2 separate regions of the Homo sapiens genome follow, and region 1 is linked to region 2. Evidence: promoter capture Hi-C in 16 types of primary human blood cells and fetal thymus (Javierre and others, 2016). All regions are on one chromosome and are shown on one strand. Each heading gives the region's core, a stretch centred on a gene start or on the middle of the fragment in contact. The rest is flanking DNA. Distances are from core to core; before and after follow the strand shown. Region 1 has its middle 140 kb from the start of MIR4280. Region 2 holds the start of LINC01949 (long intergenic non-protein coding RNA 1949).

Evidence for each region. The method cuts DNA at HindIII sites, captures the fragments that hold promoters and counts their contacts. A CHiCAGO score of 5 or more calls a contact.
Region 1: a fragment that was not itself captured here is called in contact with the fragment with the promoter of LINC01949 in region 2 in 7 of 17 cell types (M2 macrophages, M1 macrophages, M0 macrophages and 4 more); the score reaches 26.6 in M2 macrophages.

The regions. Positions count from the first base shown.
Region 1 is chr5:86,975,580-86,978,742 of GRCh38, reverse strand. No RefSeq gene overlaps it. Among named protein-coding and RNA genes, the nearest start is that of MIR4280, 140 kb to the left of the region's middle. The HindIII fragment of the contact is 5,108 bases long and covers 1-3,163 here.
Region 2 is chr5:87,237,747-87,240,784 of GRCh38, reverse strand. It overlaps LINC01949 (long intergenic non-protein coding RNA 1949), which reads left to right and starts at 1,584. Exons shown (of 3, transcript NR_130914.1): 1 at 1,584-1,719; 2 at 1,804-1,970. All of the region lies in intron 2 of LOC101929380 (a long non-coding RNA gene), which reads right to left. The HindIII fragment of the contact is 4,009 bases long and covers 1-1,826 here.

The DNA of each region.
Region 1 (3,163 bases), core at 172-2,671, 260 kb after region 2:
AATCCTCTCATCTATAATGAACTGAAGTAAACACCCTTGGTTTACTTCCCTGCAGTAAAGCACTTACATCTCTGGGGCTACAACCAGGAAGTCAACAGTCCACGTCCTTACTTCAAAAAGTATTTGATACTTATATGAGGGTAAGCAAAATGTCTGCCTCTTGGAAATCAACAAGTCCTCCAGTTTTTGGAGCTACCATTTATTCTAACATTTAAATAAAATGGCTCAAATTTCTTTTTATAAAATAGCACTACCTAGCTTCAATCCACTTCATTCTTTTGAGGGCTAACTTTCCCTAAAACATTTGAAAAAAAATCGAGGTTGCTTGAAGTTTGCTTCTTTACTGTCATCTCCAGCACTCATTGTCATGTCTCCTGCTGAACATCAGGCTTCTGTTTACTTTGTGGCTAGTCCCCCCAACTTTGGAACTTTGCTTCTCTTTCTCCATTCTCCAAAGTACCATTAATATTAATGACTGAAATTCTGGGCAAAACACATTTCTGTTGACAACTCACAAAAAATAGAACTTCCTTACAGCGAGAAAACAATTATCTGCCCTTCCTAAAACCATGTTCCTGAGAGTCATATCTCTCTAGACCAGAGTTGTTTAACAAAACTTTCCGCACTGTTCAATACAGTAGCCACTGGACACATGTGGCTATTGAGCACTTCACATGTGGTTAGCGAGGCTGAGGAACTAAATTTTAAATTTTATTTGAATGTAAATTTAGTCACGTGACTAGTGGCTATCATGTTGGAAAGCAAAGGTCTGTCCAACTGTCTGTGAAGATTGATTCCCTTTCTTTTTCCAGGGTTCTCACCCCATTTGCCAACTAACATTTTGTAGTTATTAGTAAATAATTAAAAAATTCCTGTTACTCTATTTCGCAAGAGAGATTTCAGTCAATTTCCCACACTAGGATTTATCTATCTAGATTATCATGGGAGCCCCCATTATCTTGTAAAATAAAAAAGTCTCTTGTGGCCCATCAAGATAATTTCCTAGAAACAAAGGACCATTTATCTCGGTAAATGCTTATACCAAGGATGACTTAAGTAGTTGCAAACCATATTATATTTTCAAAATCAATATTTTCATTAGGTTACACCTTTCCTTCAGCAAAATATTTTCTGTAGCTGGAAAAGAAAGTTGCCCATAAACTCTTTCCACAGGTCATGTTCTGGAAAAGATAAAAACATATCATCTAATATCTTATGGACACTCTTTCAGGCTACTCAATCCCTATGACATGCAAATCTAGTATGAGAAACTGTTTCAGGCGGAGCTCTCCAAAACTGGAAGAAATCACTTAAAAATTTGCGTAATTGGGGAATGAGAATGAACAGCTGTCTCTGAAGCATGAGGAAATGGGTGTGGTGAGAGTATCAACATTATTCTCTATCCTGAGGCTTCAGTCTCTGATTTATAGTCTTGAAAGACAGTGCTCATTGCCAAGGTTTTGTCTCTTTGAGAATGGTATGCTCCTGTTTCCATTAAAATAATATTTCTTCCCATTCCTGTTCCCTACGATGGGATCCAGAGAACAGTAAGTTGACCCTGTATCAACTCCCCTTTAAAGTCATGTACTGCCTGTGCTTGGCATGATACTCCACCTAGAAATTTGCCTGTTTCCCTAGCCCCTCTATAAAAGGAAAGAGAACTCTATAGTCAACCAAGCATATTTGCTCATAGGATCTAGAAAGCCCCATTCCTCTTGAAATTTTCTGCAATCTCACTTGTCGCCAGAACATTTCCAGAAAAGCCTTACTTTCCATATCATTGAGGATGGCTTTTTGGTGTGCTTAGTGCTTTAAAAGTTCCCATTCTCACAATCCTAGCTAAGGGGTGGCATTTCCATTTCATGGAATCATGGGTCATGACCCTGGAAATAACTACCATCCTGAGCTTTGCAATGCCTCTATGATAGCATTGCACTCCAATTCTTAGACAATAGTTAGAATTGCTTAGTTTCAGATAGCATTGATCTCCGCAATCATATGCCTTTCTTTAATTTGCTTCATATAGACAGAATGCAGTTTTTGACAAACTGGGTCAAATATATCCTATTTATGTTTATCTGTTCCAAATTGGTAGTAGAATGGTGATATTTATGGTCACTGGCCTACAGTCCTCTAACTAGAAGGAAAAATACTGCCTGCTCCTACTCCCTGAAGCCTTGAATAATAAAATCCTGAAACCAAATTTTGCTGACAACAACTTCTACTGCCCAGGTTTGAGCTGGTACTTCCTATACTAACTAGTTTTGTTACATTGAAGTGTTTTCTATTGGTTTCCAATTCTACCTTTCTTCTTCCTTATGAATTATTCTCATAATTGAGAGACCCTGTTTACTCTGAGATATCACAAATAACATTTTTACTATAAATAAATGTACTATTTATTTTTTCCAATTAAACCCAGTTTATTCTGGTTTAACAAGTACTGCTTTTTGAAATAACATCCCTAACTTAAATTGATTAATGTATTTTTGCCATAACAATTTATTGAGCATATAGTATGTGATGACATAGTTCTAGATGCTGGCTATATAGCAATGAGAAAAACCCACACAAATCCCTGCTCTTATGGAGTTTGTATTCTAGTTAAATAAGAAAGAAAATAAACAAACACATAAAATATGTAGTATGTCAGATGTTACAAGTTCAGTAAGAAAAGTGAACATGAGAAGGGGGATACTTGGGAGAATTGGTGGGGATAGTTACTATTTTAAATTAGATAGGCAGGGAGGAACTCACTTATAAGTTAACATTTAACCATAGACTTAAAGGAGACAAGGGAGTGAGCCATGTAGGGATCTAGGGAAGAGTGCTGCAGAAAGAAGGAAATAGCAACTGCAAAGCCCTGACACGTACAAGAGATAACAAGATGGTCAGTGTATCTGGAACCAAGCTAAGAGGGAGAGCCATAGAAACTGAAGCCAGTGAGGGTATGGAGCATGAGACTACACTGCCTTGTAGATACATGTGCTTTGCCTTTAATTCTGAATGAGACCAGACATCATAGGTAAGTATGGGACAGAAGAATGATTCATATAAACAAATATTTTTTTCTTTCTTCTTTGTCATGAATGCTTAAAAATTAAACATCAGAATTGTGACCACTCTAGAAATTTGTCAAGACTAGCTCCGGTGTAGTATGCAC
Region 2 (3,038 bases), core at 335-2,834:
AAATGCAAAATAATAAGAAATGTTGTATGAAAGTGCTTAGAGAGTCTGCCTTATTGAATATTGTTTGTTTTTGAACTGTGTGTTGGTAGGAGGTACTCCTGACAATTTTCACTTTACAAACATTTATTTCTTGATTTAACCTACCACCAGGATGACGGCTGTCACTCACTGATTCACCAAAAATTGGACAAATTGCTTACTTATTTTTGTTGATTTTTCTTAAATGTATGTATAGCTTACATTTATATCAATATTCAACATTAGAAGTGTTTCAAGTCTTCACTTAGAAATTTGTTGATGTTTTTGTGATACAAATATGCCATAGGAACTAATTCTTGTTTATATTAATTAGCCTATAGTAAAACTGGTTTTGTTACATGGCATCTCACTTGAAGTTGAAGTTTCCAAGACCCTATCAACAACGTTGAGAACTTACTGTCATAGGTTGAAAAACTGTACACCAGGAACCGGACCAAAATAGATCTGACAGTAATATTGATATTAGAAAACAACTTTAAGTCTAATAATGATTTTTCTCTAAAGAGGTTGATTACTTCATGATAGAAGGATCATGTCACCATGATGACACAGACTGTTAGTGCACATCAATATCCATTTTGTCCTCTTCTTTTTTGGCATACAACCAAAACTTACATAGGCTTTTTATCATTTTACTGGGCCTATGTAACTGAGTTTTAGCCAGTGGAATATGTCCAAGTGACATTTGCCACTTCTAGGTCTGGCACATTAACACTTGATGTATTACATTTCAGACCCTCTTATCATTCTGCAGTGTGTTTGGCGATCTGTTGTTTAAGATCTATATGCACTGGTTACTGTTGCTTGCCTTCCATTCCTACCCTTACTAATCAGATTCCTATTATAGCTACTTCTGTCCTTGATTCATTTTGTATATTAGATGTGTGTGTGTTCATGTGCATGCATGCACCCTCACATGTAGGTGTATATGGGAGTGGTGGTAAAGACAGGATATTTCTTCAGTTCATGGGATTTTATTTCAGGAGAATTCAAACATTCACGTATTGGAGAAGATGACACATTTCTTGAATGTCTTGGGCTTTGAGCTGAATGCACTAACTAGAAGGGACTTCAGATTGTCCTCCTTCGGGGGAGGTAAGTATATTCTTCATATACAGGTAAGAGTGAAATGATAGAAGAATGTTCCTCCTCTCCTTTTCTTCCTGGACAACAGATCAAATATTTCTCAGATCTTTTACAGCTGAATTGGAGTCACATGGACAGGTATGATCTTAAAATATAAAAAATTATTTTAAAATTACATGCTAAAATTTTATAAAAATAAATGCTAAAACTAACTTAAACGGAAGCATTTGATTAAAAAATTTATCCAAAAAAGTTTGAATTTTATATGAAACAGGATAGAAGATGAAAAAGCTAAAGAAATAAAATATAAATAAATTATGGCTGGGGACAGTGGCTCACACCTGTAATCCCAGCACTTTGGGAGGCTGAGGTGGGAGGACTGATTGAGGCTAGGAGTTTGAGACCTGTTATTTGAGGCACATGGGAAGGAAAGTTTTCTTTGAGATATTCCACATTTTATAATATTCTTCAAGAGATTTACAGAGTTCCTTGAGTGAATTGTTGGTTTGTTCTTAATACTGAATTTCCTATTCAAATTTATTTAGAAGTTCATTTCTTACAGTGATCTCATCTCCTATTAAGATATTCTTCAAGGTAGGTTCTTGGCCAGTTTCTCAATGACAGATTTTTAAAAATATTGTTAATCTTTTTATTAATATGAGAACATAATTGTTCCAGATCTGGAGGCCATCCTTTAAGCTTCTTGCAACAGTCTGGGAGCAAAGAGTTTACTCGCCACTGGGTAGTGGGCCATGGACACCCCAGTCTCCACCAGAAGTTCGGGATTGCAAAATGGGACTCTGGCAGCAAATTTCAAACTGTATGCCAGACCTGGCCCTTTGCAGGTGGGCATCACTAAAAATTTAAATTACCAAAATTGACTCAAGAGTAAATCTATGTCTGAGGAGAAAGCCTTTGGAAAAATTGAATTAGTAAGCAAAAACCTACCCAAAATAAATAACAGTAAGTCTAGAAAATTTTACACAGGGATTACCAACAAACATTCAAAGCACAGAAAAATCTCTTTAGCACAAAATGCTACAAAATACAGAAAAAGAGGAAAATTCTGTAGTTTCTCTCATGAAGTTAATATATTCTAGTTAGCTGAACTAGAAAAATAAGAGAAAGAAAAATTATAGGTTAATCTTCCTTATGAGTACATGCAAGTATCATAAGATGTTGACAAATTGAATCAAGCATTTTAAAAAATGCATTATGATCAAATATGATTTATCCTAGAAATAATGTATGAGAGTTATAAAATTCCCATTAACATTAGGAACAAGCATTAATACTTATTATCTCCACCAATAATCATCATTGCTCTGGAGTTCCTAACCAATGAAATAAGAAAGAAATAACCAGTTATATGGATTAGGGAAGATCAAATATTGATTATTTGAATATTTTTTTTTATAGAAAATCCAATAATTGTACAGCTGAAGAACTGGAATAGGAGAGTTAAGCAAAGTTTCTACATACAAGAGCAAAGTGGTCAAATCAATAGGTTATCTGTAGGCCAGTGCTAATTACATTGACATGGTGGCCTTAAAATTTTTACATGCAATTCATAAATCAGTTTCACTGATATTACTTTACCAGATATTGATATTCTAATGTTGTAATTATACAACTGTATTATTGTGTCAGAAATAAAATTAATAGACCAACAAAACAAAACTCAGAACAGATTCACATATTTGATAACTTGGTGTATGACAAGTGTGACATTAAAATTCAGGAGTAAAATAAAAAAATAACAAATAATGCCGGGATAATTGGTTAGTCACATGGGAAAAAGTCAGAAAGATCTCTGCCTCACTCTATTTACATGGAATATACTTCAGATGAAAGAAACTTAAATACAAAGAGCAAAACTTTAAGACTTTTAGAAAAAGATAGGAGAATTTATG